2 separate regions of the Homo sapiens genome follow, and region 2 is linked to region 1. The links are contacts of gene promoters, found by promoter capture Hi-C in blood cells and fetal thymus (Javierre and others, 2016). All regions are on one chromosome and are shown on one strand. The core of a region is centred on a gene start or on the middle of the fragment in contact, and the rest is flanking DNA. Distances in the headings are between cores, read along the strand shown. Region 1 holds the start of PRRT3 (proline rich transmembrane protein 3). Region 2 overlaps MTMR14 (myotubularin related protein 14).

Region 1 (6,714 bases), core at 3,047-5,546:
GGAGATAACAGCACCTGCCTCATTGCGTTGTGAAGAAGATGAAATGTTTAGCCCGGTGCCCAACACCCAGTAAGTGCTAAATGGATGTCAGCTATCATTTTCATTAATGCTACTATCAGGGAGGTAGTACCCCAGCAGTTCGACACATGGGCTGCATATTAGAATCTTCTGGAGACCAAGGAATAAGAATTTCTTGGGACGTGGCTTGGGCATTGGAATTTTTTTCTTTTTTTCTTTTGACAGGTTCTCACTCTGTCATCCAGGCTGGTGTGCAGTGGTGCAATGTGGGCTTACTGCAGCCTTGACCTCCAGGACAAGTGATCTCCCACCTCAGCCTCCGGAATAGCTGGGACTACAGGTATGCACCACCACGCCCAACTAATTTTTATATATTTTTTTTGTTCTAAACATATCCATGTTACATATTAGAACATTCTAGCCCCAAAAGGGCAAATGACTTCTCCCAGATTTCCCAGTGAGTATGAATTTATTATCCTAGGTTGTTTGAAGGAGGCCCTGGGCAACTCCTTTAAGGAGGTGATTGTCTCCATTCATTCCCCACCCTCCGCCCCCATACATCCCCAACAGAGGTTCTCAGTTACTAGACAGAGCACTCCCTCTCCCCACACCCCAGCCATGCTCTCACCTGGCTGCAGGGCCCCCATGGGGCTCTCTGTTCGGTTTACAGCTGGGCCAGGGTCTGAGGGACCAGGGATGAGAGACTTGGGGGTGCCTGGGGCCTCCACAGCTCCTCTCACCCGCTGGGGGGAGATGGGGTCTGCTCCATTCATTGCTGCTCTCTCTGAAATGACAAAGCAGTCATCACCTTACCTGACCCTCCTATGGTCCTCCTAATCCCTCAGGATTGAGTCACAATCAACCTCATTTGCCACAAAGAGGAAAATGAGACCTAGAGGGACCCAGGGTCAAACAGAATTGAGGCATCCAGCTGCCCCAGAACATCGCTCAGCACACTCATTGATACCCACCTGGCTTAGACGGCCGATCAGGAGCCTCTGAGGCGGGTGGATCCGTGGGCTGGGGTCCTGGTGAATCCTTAGCGTCAGGAAGGTCAGCCTGCTTGGGCGGGGGACCTGGGGAGCTGACTTCCCAGGACACCTCAGCGCCAGCCCTCTTGGGGGTCTCAACCGGCAGCTCCTCAGCAGGAGGAAGGCTTCTGGCCAATGCCAAGTCTGGCTGGGCCCCTGGCTCCTGAGAGTACACCACCTCAACTGGGGGTACTGAGCCAACATCAGGGGCTGCTGGATCCTGCTGGGTGAAGTGGGGACCTTGAGCTGCCTCCTGCAAGTGTTCCTCAAACCCACCCTGTCCTTCCAGCACTGGCCTCTTGACAGTACCTGAGTGGGAAACAAGGGTGTGGGGTGGGCCCTGGTGGTCTGAGGGAGAAGTGGGTGGGACCCTGCTCTTAGTTTTGGCCTTCAGACCCTCATCTCTAGGTGGCCACTGTCCCTCTTGGCCTTCATGCTGCAGGGAGGGAGGAACTGTGGCTACCCTGAGTTGACGTCTGGGAGTTGTGGGGATGAAAGTGAGATGAGGGTGGCCCACTGGGTGGGGAGCCACTGCTTCTTGCTGCAGAAGCTCTTGTGAGTCCAGAGGTCCTGTCCAGCCGTGGGAGCTTGGTCCTTGAGCCATCTGGAGGTCATCAGTTACTGGGAGTCGTTCTCTCTGAGCTCCTTGTGCTGCTTTGGGCCCGTACAGGGCTGGGCCAAGGGGAGAGGCTACAGGCTTCTCAGGCATCTCTTCAGCAGGGGCGTGGCGGACATCAGAGTTCCTGTGACTGTCAGCTCTGGGGTTCTCCGGGAACACGTCAAAGGCCTGGGGCTCTGAGCCCACAGAGCCCTTGGGGTGGGCTCCAGGGATCATAGGGATTTCGGAGTTTTCAAGTGGCCTGGGAAAGCCCCTCCCCAGGGCAGGGCCAGTCCCCAGGAGTGGCAGCAGCAACAGCAGAAGGCCACATACACAGCCCCATGGGCTGGAGGCCATGGTCTACTCCGATGCCTGGGCCTAAAGCCCCCACCTTCCAGTCCTCACTGGATGAGCCTAAAAAAAAAACAGGGCATGGAATGACATGTGAGGGCTGGGGGCCCCCATGCCTTCCTCAAGGGGCTGACAGGAAAGAAAAGCAACGCAAGGCAGCAGCTTCTCTGCTTTTAAAATTGCTGGACGTGGCACTTGCCCTGCTTTAAAACCTTCAGTGGCTCCCCATTTCCCTCAAGAAAGAACATAAGCTCCTCTCCTGGCCTTCCAAGACCCTGGCCACCACAAGCTGTTCATCTGTCCTCCAACACCCACTGGACTGTGTGGCTCCCATGCCTTTTGCTTCTGCTGTTCTGTCAGCAGGGAATGCTCTCTCCCTTCCCCTTCACTTACTGAAATCCTGTTCTTTTTGAGACGGAGTCTTGCTCTGTCGCTCAGGCTGGAGTGCAGTGGCGTGATCTCGGCTCACTGCAACCTCCACCTCCCAGGTTCAAGTGATTCTCCTGCCTCAGCCTCCCGAGTAGCTGGGGTTACAGACATGTGCCACCACACCTGGCTAATTTTTATATTTTTAATAGAGATGGGGTTTTGCCATGTTGGCAAGGCTAGTCTTGAACTCCTGACCTCAGGTAATCTGCCCATCTTGGCCTCCTAAAGTGCTGGGATTACAGGCATGAGCCACTGCACCCTGCCTGAAATGTTATTCCTAAAGGCCCACTTCAAAAATGAGAGACGTGGAGAGGGAGAGGAATATGCACCGGCCTTTGGCGAGGGGCCTGAGTTTGAATCCCAGTGTCTTCATTTCCTGGGGGAGTCATTTCACCTCTCTGCATCATAGTTTTCCCATCAGTAAAATGGGGATAATAAGCATGCCTAACTCAAGGCATGAGACAAATAACCAAACAGGTATGGGCGAGGTTCATACCTGATGCTTGACAAGCGTTACACATTCCTCTTCCCGCCTTCCTTCCCTCATCTTCCTGGGCACTTGTCACTCTGGTCTGATTCTATAATAATCTCCTGCCTCTTATTTCAAACCTGCAGCCTCCAGTATATACCTGGCCCCACGTGGATATCCCCTAAAAGTTCCTGTTCTCGAGAGCCTGTCAGTGGGCCAGGGAGGCAGGAAGGGGCCCCACCACCAGGAGAGGTTTCATGGAGGGTGCGAGAGCTGAAGCCTGGGTGTGTTTGGCGGCAGAGGCCCTGCTCTTTTCCTCTCTGGGGAGCAGCTGTCCCCAAAGCTTCCTGGCTGTTAACCCATGGTGGCTCACAGACACCTTAAGAAGCCACTGAAAACCCCTGGTGCTCTCCCGGGGAAAAGACCCAGGCTCACCGAAAGTTGTGAACAATTTCAAGGGGTTCAAAGACCTTTGAGTCCCATCCTCCAAACTCGAGTTTAGACTCTGTCTTAAAGCCTTGTTAGTTCATTTCTCAAACATTCACGGAGCCCCATGGGCTGCTCCTGGTCTAGGCTAGGTGCTGGGGGCCCAGAGACAGGGCTTTGCTCCAGGGTTGGGAGTAGGGGTGCGCTGAGACGCCCCTAACACAGGTACTGGCTAAAAACAGTGCTCCTGTGTTTAGTTCTTTCCCAGTGAGGCTCCTGCGCTGAGCTTAGCAACACGTCACTCCGCCCTCCCAATACAAGGTGTGGGAACAGCCATTTCACAGGGGGAAGAAACGGGGGTTCAGAGAGGGTGAGCAACTCCCCCAAGGTCACACAGCTGAGTGGACACAATCGGGGTTGTGAAACCCTCGGAGGCTCATCTTCCACAGGAGGTCCAAAAAGCTTTGCCGAGAAAACGGCTGAATGGGGCCTCCAAAGATAAACATGCCATCTGCCTACCACTGCCAACCCAAGAGATGTGGGCACCTGCGGACAAGGCGGGGGCTTGCCCAGCCCTGGGCTCCCACTCTGCTGGAGAGGCTGTGGGGGGTGGCGGATCTCTCTGCCGCAGGGACTGGGGAGAGGCCGGCCTGGGGGCAGGGCGAGGCCGTTGCGGGGCAGCCTCGGAGCTGGTCCATCTCGGGTTACCTCTCCTCCTCCTCCTCCTCCTCCTCCGTCTCCTCTCTCCCTGGCTCCGCGCCTTCCCGCAGTGTCCTGGATGGGGGTGGGCGCCGTGCAGGCCTGGTCGCCTGCGCCCGCGACGGGGGCAGCAGGCCACGCTCCCCGTCGGGGTCCCGCCATCGCCCCCTCCCTGGGCCAGCTCCTCACCTGCGCGCCGCAGCCCCCGTGTTCACCTTGCGCGCGTCCCTGCAGCCGATCGCCGCGCCGCATCCTCCGAGATGCTCAGACTCGGCTAACAGAGCCCGGCGCTGCCGATCGCGAGCCCGCCCACAGGAGCGCAGCCCTGCTTAACTCTTTCCCCTTAGGGGTGGACTCTTCTGTCAACCCTGACTTCCCCTCGCTCAGGGATTGTCAGGGCTCAGAGTGGAACCGAGGTCATCTCTGAGGGATGTGGAAATGTCTTCTGCAGCATCCCTGAAAACGGGGCAGCTAGCCTCTGCTTGCATACCTCATGGGACGGGGAGCTCACTTCCTTTCTATATCCCTACATCCTTTTAGGTAAATCCTACCTACAGCTTGGTATGTATCCTTCAGATTCTTCTCAATGTACAGTTACATGTACATCTTAAATAGAAATGACATCATACTGTATACTTTTTTTTTTTTTTTTTGAGACAGTCTTGCTCTGTCGCCCAGGCTGGAGTGCAGTGGCGTGATCTCGGCTCACTGCAACCTCCGCCTCCCAGGTTCAAGTGGTTCTCCTGCCTCAGCCTCCCTAGTAACCATGCCTGGCTAATTTTTATATTTTTAGTGGAGACAGGGTTTCACCATGTTGGCCAGGGTGGTCTCGAACTCCTGACCTCAGGTGATCAGCCCGCCTCGGACCCCCAAAGTGTTGGGATTACAGGCGTCAGCCACCGTGCCCAGCCACTGTACACATTTCTGTAATTTGTCTTTTTCACTTTCCAATATATTCTGGCACATTTTTCATGTAAATATCTATAGATCTATATCATTTCTTGTATCCACTGTTGAGAATTCCAGCATATGGTCAGCTAGTTATTGTTCTTTATCCTGTCCCCTGTAATTGGACATAGGTTGTTTCTAGCCTTTTGCTCGCAGGGATAATGGAGCAGGGGCCATTCCTTGCTTAACACATCACTGTGCACGTACACTAGTGCACCTACCAGATAATTGCCTAGCCGAGGCATGGTAGTAAAATCTATGGGTCTGCATATGGGGCTGGTAGACACTGTCAAAATGTTCTTGGTCTTTCTTTGAACACCTCTTGATATACTAAACATCCATTATTAGGCTCAATTCCTTAAGGGAAAGCCACACAGGAAATATATGTGGTTATCAAAAATGAGATAGGGCTGGGTGCAGTAGCTCACACCTGTAATCCCAGCACTTTGGGAGGCCTAGAGAGGAGGATCATTTTGAGCCCAGGAGTTCAAGACCAGCATGGGCAAGATGGTGAGACTTTTTTAAATTAAAAAACAAACAAAAAAACAAAAAAACTAGCTGGGCGTGGTGGTACATGCCTGTAGTCCTACCTACTCCAGAGGCTGAGGCCAGAGAATCATTTGAGCCCAAGAGGTCAAGATTGCAGTAAGCTATGGCCACTGGAGTGTCACTGGAGTGCATTGACCACTCTGTCCATTGACCACAAGCTGTGTCACTGGAGTGCAATGACCACTGCACTCCAGCCTGGGCAGTAGAGCGAGACTGACAAAAAAAAAAAAAAAAAAAAAAAAGAAGAAGAAGAAGAAGAAGAAAATTTGGCCTGTATAATGGCTCATGCCTATATTCCCAGCACTTTGGGAGGCCAAGGCTGGAGGACTGCTTGAACCCAGGAGTTCGAGACCAGCCTGGGCAACATGGCAAAACCCCATCTCTACCAAAAAAAAAAAAAAAAAATTAGCCAAGTGTGGTGGTGCGCACCTGGGTCCCAGATACTCAGGAGGGTTATGTGGGAGGATCACTTCAGTCCAGGAGCCAGAGGTTGCAGTGAGCCAAGGTCGCACCACCGCACTCCAGCCTGGGTGACAGAAAGAGACCCAGTATCAAATAAAAAATCAAATTTCACTTAAAAAAGAAAAAGAAAAAATTCTTCCTAGGGCTGAGCTGACATCTCCCTCCCAATGGCTTCCTACCTCTAGCTCTCACAGAAAAGCAATACTCAGGCCCCAGTTGTGTCTGACGTGTTGCAGTTTGAAGAATATTCCATCCCTAATGGCTGGTAAATGGTGGGGCCTGCATTCAGCTGCTTGACTCTGGGAGAGGGTGCAGGCCTTGCCCGTTTCACACATGACCTGACCAGCTCTGTTTTCCTTGTTGGAGCCACTTCAGAATTGTAAAGGCATCTCTCATTTCTCTAGAGTCTTCTTTCTCCAGGACAAACACTCCGAGTTTTTCAGCTGTTCCTTGCAGGACAGGATTCTGGGTTCTCACCATGTGGAATCTCTTCTCTGTTTGCTTCTTACCAGCTCAACAACGCCCCTCTGAAAGTAGGACTCTTGGAAATGAACCTTGTTGGGAGTAAAGCTGAACCTTCACCTCTCCTTTCCAGGATTCTACTCCATTCATACGGCCTCACACTGAATTAATGTTTCTAGCAGCCACATTACTTTGTTACCCAATTGATCTAGTAGTAAAGTCTTCCCATCTCTTCATGTACCACTGGTTTATTGACTCTTAATGTAGGATTC
Region 2 (6,714 bases), core at 3,061-5,560, 260 kb before region 1:
ACAGAGATAAGAAACTGACAGGGCTCGTGGGATGCCAAGTAGGGATTTCTCTGAGAGAGGGGCTCATGGGCCAGGCCTTTGGGAATCACCACAGAAATGGAAGCCTGGTGTGTGCTTCCTGGAGGCCCCTGGGCGAGGCACTGGCTGGAAGGGAGAAGATAATTTGCTCATGGAGGTGGGGGTGTGGCTGGGGTCAGGAGCCTCCTGCCTGTGCCCACCTCAAGCTTAAGACCTGACCCTCACAGCTCCTCAGCAAGGGAGGCTCTAGGCCAGACAGTGGCTGCCCACACCCGCAGTTCTGAACCAGTATTTTGGGATGCCTCCCCTAAAAAATGTGATTCCTTTCCTTTCCATTATGTTCCTGCTTTGTCCATTATTCTCCCTGCGCCCAAGTCATCTCTCCCGCAGCTATCCTTCCCTGTTAGCATCTCTCCCTGGGAATCTTAGAAGAGGGGAGAGGGTGCCATTTCACTTTATCCTTTTTAACCACTTGAGAACACACATGTTGAATTTAATGATGGTTTGAAAAATCACTGGCCTGGCTGGGCACGGTGGTTGACGCCTGTAATCCCAGCACTTGGGGAGGCTGAGGCGGGCGGGTCATGAGGTCAGGATATTGAGACCATCCTGGCTAACACGGTGAAACCCTGTCTCTAATAAAAATGCGAACAATGAGCTGGGCATGGTGGCGGGCACCTGTAGTCCCAGCTACTCGGGAGGCTGAGGCAGGAGAGTGGCTTGAACCCAGGAGGCTGAGCTTGCAGTGAGCCGAGATCACGCCATTGCACTCCAGCCTGGGTGACAGAGCGAGACTCTGTCTCAAATAAAAAAAAAAAAAATAGCTGGCTTAACCCTGGCAGTCCCAGGAAGGAAATCCCTTCCTGCCTTGCCCCGGCCCACATGCATCTGCCAGGCCCTTCCAAGGCCTCTGTACCACCCACACCATTTATGGACCAGAACACCCACACAGTCCCACAGCAGGGCCGCTCTCCAGCAGGGGCCTTGACCTGAGTGGCTGGCCGCCCTCCCCTGGGAGTTCTGCTGCCTTGGTTCTTCTCATTGTGCGCTGCTCTTTGGTCTCCTTTAGATTTTCTTCTTCTGCTTCAATTTTTTGAAGCATATTACCTCCGAGGAGTTCTCTGCTCTGAAGACCCAGAGGTAAGTGGAGGCCTGCACGTGTCATGCTGGGCCAGGGCGCTCTGAGAAGGGCTGCTCCCTGGGAGGCAAGAGGCTGACCACCTCATTCCCGCCCTGCCTCCCTGCTTGTTGGGCTGGTGCTCCCTCCTGCCTTCGCTCTGAGGCCAGGGTAGGGGTCCCTGCTGAAGGCCACTGGTGAAGAGGCTCTTCTGCAGGGAAGGCCATGTGGGGGTCAACTTGGAGTCACACTAGCAGACAGGCTTTGGGACAGACGAGTGGTCTCTCATGACCAAGAAAACAGGTGTGTTGCTGCAGGGAGAAGCCAGCCCAGGAGTAGGAGGACTCTTAACTCCCAGTGTGCCCAAGCTGACTCTTGTCCTCCATGGCCTACAGCAGGAAGTGTGGCTGAACACTGCAGCCCCCTACAAAAGGGCAGAAGTCTGCTTCCGGCCTGGGAAATGCAAGAGTCTTGGCTGGCAACTGCCTTAGGACCCCTGTAAGAGTTGGGGTCTTGCCTGAGTTGGTTTGCCTTCCTAATCCGAGCTACAAGCATGTTGGGCCACACTTGAACGCTCAGGGCACAAGCTGATGAGGAGGATGCAGACCTTGCTGCCCTCAGAAATCTTCACCTGTGTGTTGGACAGAGCCTTGCAGCGTGGGTCCCAGAAGTGGCCCTGGTGTCTTATAACACTCCCTAGGCTAGGACCCGTCTCCACAAGTTGCCAGTGAATTGAGCTGCTTTCCAGGACAGGCAGGATTGGGAACGGGGGACACAATAAGACCCCAGATAGATCTGGAATTTACTGCTCCGGCTTCCATTTCTAGGAGGAAGAGTTTGCCAGCCCGGGATGGAGGCTTCACCCTGGAAGACATCTGCATGCTGAGTGAGTCCTGGGCCCCAACAGACTTCCCTTCCTCCATACATCTTCCCGTGTACAGATCAGGCAGGAACTGTTTGTGCTAAGAGGTTTTTTGTTTTTTTTTTTTTCTTCCCAGTTATGTGGTATAGAAAAGGTGGGGGACCAGTAGTGGGAGAAGGTAACACGCTGACTGATGGCACTGGCTTCTTTTAGGACGAAAGGACCGTGGCAGCACCACCAGCCTTGGCAGCGACTTCTCCCTGGTCATGGAGAGTTCCCCAGGAGCCACTGGGAGCTTCACCTATGAGGCCGTGGAGCTGGTCCCAGCAGGAGCGCCAACTCAGGCAGCTTGGTAAGGGGCCAGACTTGGACCAAGGTCACTCACAGCTGTGGCCCGGGGCCATCAGCACCAGGGAGCCAGGCTGGAGCCCCAAGAACAAAGCAGGCCCCCAAGAGAAGAGCTGAGAGGATAGCTCCGTGCTCCTGCTGTCTCTACTGGGCCTCAGAAGTCAGCCATCTGGTTGGTGAAGGGCACTGCCTGTGGTGGCCCAGGAACATAAAGGGCTAGGGCTCCCTGTGGGACAGAGAAGCAGCTGGGCAGGGTAGGGCAGGGGTCTGGGGAGGCTGGTATTGGAGGAGCTCCATTTTATCATTTGTCGGGGAGATAGGGGGCCATTTTGGAAAAAGAAAACCAAAAGGTAGGTGTAAGTTGATGGGGAATTGGGAACTTGAGGGTCAGCTCCTTTGAGAATCTCATGAAATTGAGACCCTGATGACTTTCACCCTGGACAGATGGCTCAAGATGTTGCATAACAAAGTCCTGAGTGGTGGCTTATATTTATAATCCCAGCACTTTGGGAGGCCAAGGCAGGAGGATCACTTGAGCCCAGGAGTTTGAGATCAGTCTGGGCAGCATAATGAGACCCCGTCTTTTAGAGGGGGAAAAAAGATTTTGCATAACATATGGAGGTGGGCAGTGACTGAAGAGTGAGGAATCATTTTCTAGCACATACTTCAAGACCAGTAGGCTGGTGTGATTTGGATGCCACAGGCCCTCCATAAAGACCCAGCCCTGCTGCCCATGGCCCTGAGCTGGAGAGAGTGCTAATGTTTGCCAACTCATGTGATGTTTTCCCAGTGGAAGTAAAGCCTAGGCCTGAAATTCAGTGAGGGTGGGCAGAGGGCTTTGCCTGCAGTGGCCCCCGGCTCACAGCCCTGCTCCTTCCACTGCAGGAGGAAGAGCCACTCATCCTCTCCACAGAGTGTCCTCTGGAACCGGCCACAACCCTCAGAGGACCGCTTGCCTTCCCAGCAGGGGCTGGCGGAAGCCAGGTCTTCCAGCTCCTCTTCCTCAAACCATTCTGATAACTTTTTCAGGATGGGTAGCAGTCCCCTGGAGGTCCCCAAACCCAGGTGAGGAGCTCCAAAGCCCTTGCTGTTGGAAGTGCCTAGCTTTCCCCCTTAATAAGACTGGAGGGTCGGGGGCCAGCACCTGAGCTAGGGTCTCAAGATGGGGTTCCTAAGCTTGCAGGCCCAGTATTTGGAGGATGGGTTAGTGTTTGGTAATAAAGCAAGGGCTGATTTGTAGAGTGGTTTGAGACTCCTTCCTCGAACCCTAGCATAATGCAGGGGAACCCAGAAGTGCCGTGGCTGTTATGTGATAGGTGGGGAATAGGGACTGCCTCCACTTGTTACCTTTGGCAGATCCCAGCCTCCTAGGCGCACCTCCCATTGTGATTGAAGAGATAGATCTAGATTCTGAGTCCCTTCTGGCTCCCACATCTAAAGTCTGAATTGGTGGGGCAGTGAGAACAGTGTTAGGGAGCTGAGCTACATGTGTGTGGCTGGGACAAACGATGGTGACTGCACACCTGGAAAGGGAGCAGCTCAGCCAGGATGGCCATGCCAGGGCCGTGGCTGAAGGGCGCTGCAGGAATGGTGCCTCCTGGGTGAGTTTAAAGCTGAGCACAGGCCAGAGGCTAGGATTGAGGGCTGGTCTGGCACTTGGGGAAAGCATTTCCTACCACTTTCATACTCCCATCGAAAGAATCCTGTGAATTGCTTTGTGTTCTAAAGTTTTGAGAATGTCTAGCCTTTCTGGAGTGAATAAAGCAGCGTGGGACTTCAGGCCCTTAGTGAATTCCAGGGAAAAAGGGGCATTTAGAAGAATGGGCATGAGCTTTGGCATCCATCCCAGGTTCAAGTCAAGCTCTGCCACATGTCCATGTGATTTTCAGACTCAGTTTAGTCCTTGGTAGTAATAGGTCTGTTAAGAAGAAAAACATTCTGAAACTTCTGGAACCTTCCTCCCATCACCCCTCTATGGTTTTTCCCTCTGGGCAAAAACAGGCAATGAAGGAAGTTGGGGAAGAACATCCTCTGCACATAGGCAGAGCAGATAAGCGGGAGGCAAGTGGGCGTTCCAGACTGCACTGCCCACAGGGGCCCCATGTGCTCACCCCTGCGTGAACTCTTCAGCTCAGAACACTGCCTGAGTGCTGGAGCTGAGCCTGTGAAACCACCGCCACACGCCGTCTGGCCCCATGGGAGGTGTGGTGGAAGTGGTGGGGCAGAGATGGGGCCAGACAGACAAGCCCATGTGCCGGTGCCCCGTCCCATCCTGTGTGTGCATGCCTGCTGCCGCACCACCCTTGTCTGTGCCCAGCTGTCCTCAGGGCCACTCTGAGGCTGCAGTGGCACTGTTTGACCCTCACTGTTCTAGGCTGTGGCTCTAGGTCATGGTTCCTGCCCCCTTTTCTGCCTGTCCAGCATTGCTGAACAACTAGGGAGGAAACCAGAGGTTCCTCTTGTCCTCTGGGTCCTGCCTCAGTCTTAACTGCCCAGAATGCAGTGAGCTCCCAAGCTGAGGCAGCACCCCATCACCCGTTACCACACCCTGGCTCTCCATCTCCTGCCTGCCAAAAGATCCCACTTTCCAATCCTGTGATAGTGTCCCTCAGTCTCACAGGTGACTTTCTGCTTGCAGGGCGTGTCTCAGGCTCTTGTAGCCAGTCCAGGATGGCCACCAAGGCCCCCTCTTGGGAGGCTGAGGAGAATTGGGGTTGTCCTCCTGACCTCAGAGCCCTGCACATGGGGGCTTGGCCAAGCTTGGGATAGCTGGACCAAGATGGGTGCAAGGCTTTGAAAGGTGTGGGGTGGGCAGCTGTGAGGTGTTTGATCTTTCCGCTGGTCTGTTTGGGGGATGCCTGTCTGGAGCCAGACTTCTTCTGACTTGGATGCCTGTTGGTCAGAGGTTTTGAAAGTCTAGATTACTCAGATTTGGAGCATTCTAATTATGTATTTCCATTACCATTAAAATTAATTTAGTCTCTTATCTTAAAGTGCCTAAGGGATCCTGTCATTACCCTCCCTGCTTCTTAGGTAACAATAGCCTGTGAGGTCTTTAATGTGGTAGGAGAAGCTGTTTGGAAAGAAACCTTTTAGTGAAGCTGTCTGTGACAGCCAAAATTCTCCTAATGTGAATTCTTTGGGTTTTTATACACTCCAAATTCTACAGGCATCTCTCTTTTAAAGCAGGATTCCCCCATGGAATGAATCTGTGAAGCTTTGTTCAAAGTTAAGTAGTAGGTATGAATCAGGTTGGGAAGAAAGTTCTGTGGGGTGCCAATTCTTACTAACCCCGAGCCCACAGCCCTTACTGGCAAGCCCAGTGGTTTTTAATCATTGTTAGCTGTTGTTGCTGCAGCAGCTTCTGATTAAGTTGCATTTCTGGACCATTGTTAAATCTCTCATCAGCGACAGGGTTGAGGGCTGGGACAGGCCAGGACCAATGCTCTGAGCTCACATGCCTCCCCCAGCTCTGGTTAGCAGGTCGCTCCACCTTGCATGGCCTCGGCCTCGGCCTCTGCTCTGGAGTCATGCATCCTTTAGGAGTAGGGAGGTTGCTAGCACAGGATTGTCCATGCCCAAGGAGGGTTGGTGCCACCACTGAGCCCAGCTTGAAGCCAGGCTACCTGAAGAGCAGGTGAAGTTTGCGGAGGGATGCCCAGCAGCCTGGTTGAATAGCTGAGTAGCAACACAGGGACCAACCTCTGCTGCCCAGTTAGCTACTCTTCCCCCAGCCACCACCACCTGCTAACTGCTCTTTGAGCAACGAGCTCTGTCTTAGGCTGTCTGCTTGTGGGTGGGAGCAGGGTAAGTTTAGATTAGGTGACAGCCAGGTCCCCTCAGAGCCCAGGATTCTATATCTTAGCTCAAGTATTAACTCTGTGTGACTTCATGACATGTCACTTGATGACTTTGGGTTTCCATTTTCTTATCTGTGTAATCAGAGGCTTAGGTAACGCCAAGGTCCTTCCTAGCTGTATACCTTCAAACCTTCTGTATCAGCCTTGTCAGATGTTTTCAAATGCAAGTAACAGAAAACACATTTCAAACTGACCGAAACAATAAAGGAAACACATTTACAGTCAGCCCTCCATATCTGTCGTTTCCACATCCATGATCAGCCAACCAGATTGAAAACATTCAAGATAACATAAACAATAGAAAGTAATACAGATGTGAACATGCAGTGTAACAACCATGTACAGAGCACTGACACTGTATCAGATAATCGAGATGATTTAAAGCATATGGGAGGATGTGCATAGGTTATATGCAAATACAAGTGACTCTTGAACAATGCAGGGATTAGGGCTGTCCCCTACACATGCAGTTGAAATCTGGGTATAACTCTGACTCCCCAAAAGCTACA

Evidence for each region. Contacts are between HindIII fragments. The CHiCAGO score rates a contact against its expected background, and 5 or more counts as called.
Region 2: a fragment that was not itself captured here is called in contact with the fragment with the promoter of PRRT3 in region 1 in 1 of 17 cell types (monocytes); the score reaches 5.2 in monocytes.

Annotation. Positions count from the first base shown.
Region 1 is chr3:9,948,112-9,954,825 of GRCh38, forward strand. It overlaps PRRT3 (proline rich transmembrane protein 3), which reads right to left and starts at 4,297. Exons shown (of 4, transcript NM_207351.5): 1 at 4,211-4,297; 2 at 990-2,061; 3 at 647-802. The coding sequence starts at 2,004. PRRT3-AS1 (PRRT3 antisense RNA 1) reads left to right here. Exons shown (of 4, transcript NR_046734.1): 2 at 1-69; 3 at 244-358; 4 at 6,493-6,676. RefSeq lists a silencer at 3,796-4,335. The HindIII fragment of the contact is 9,295 bases long and covers 3,783-6,714 here.
Region 2 is chr3:9,686,734-9,693,447 of GRCh38, forward strand. MTMR14 (myotubularin related protein 14) reads left to right here. Exons shown (of 19, transcript NM_001077525.3): 14 at 1,088-1,158; 15 at 1,963-2,021; 16 at 2,211-2,349; 17 at 3,231-3,410. Among named protein-coding and RNA genes, the nearest start is that of CPNE9, 14 kb to the right of the region's middle. The HindIII fragment of the contact is 1,583 bases long and covers 3,520-5,102 here.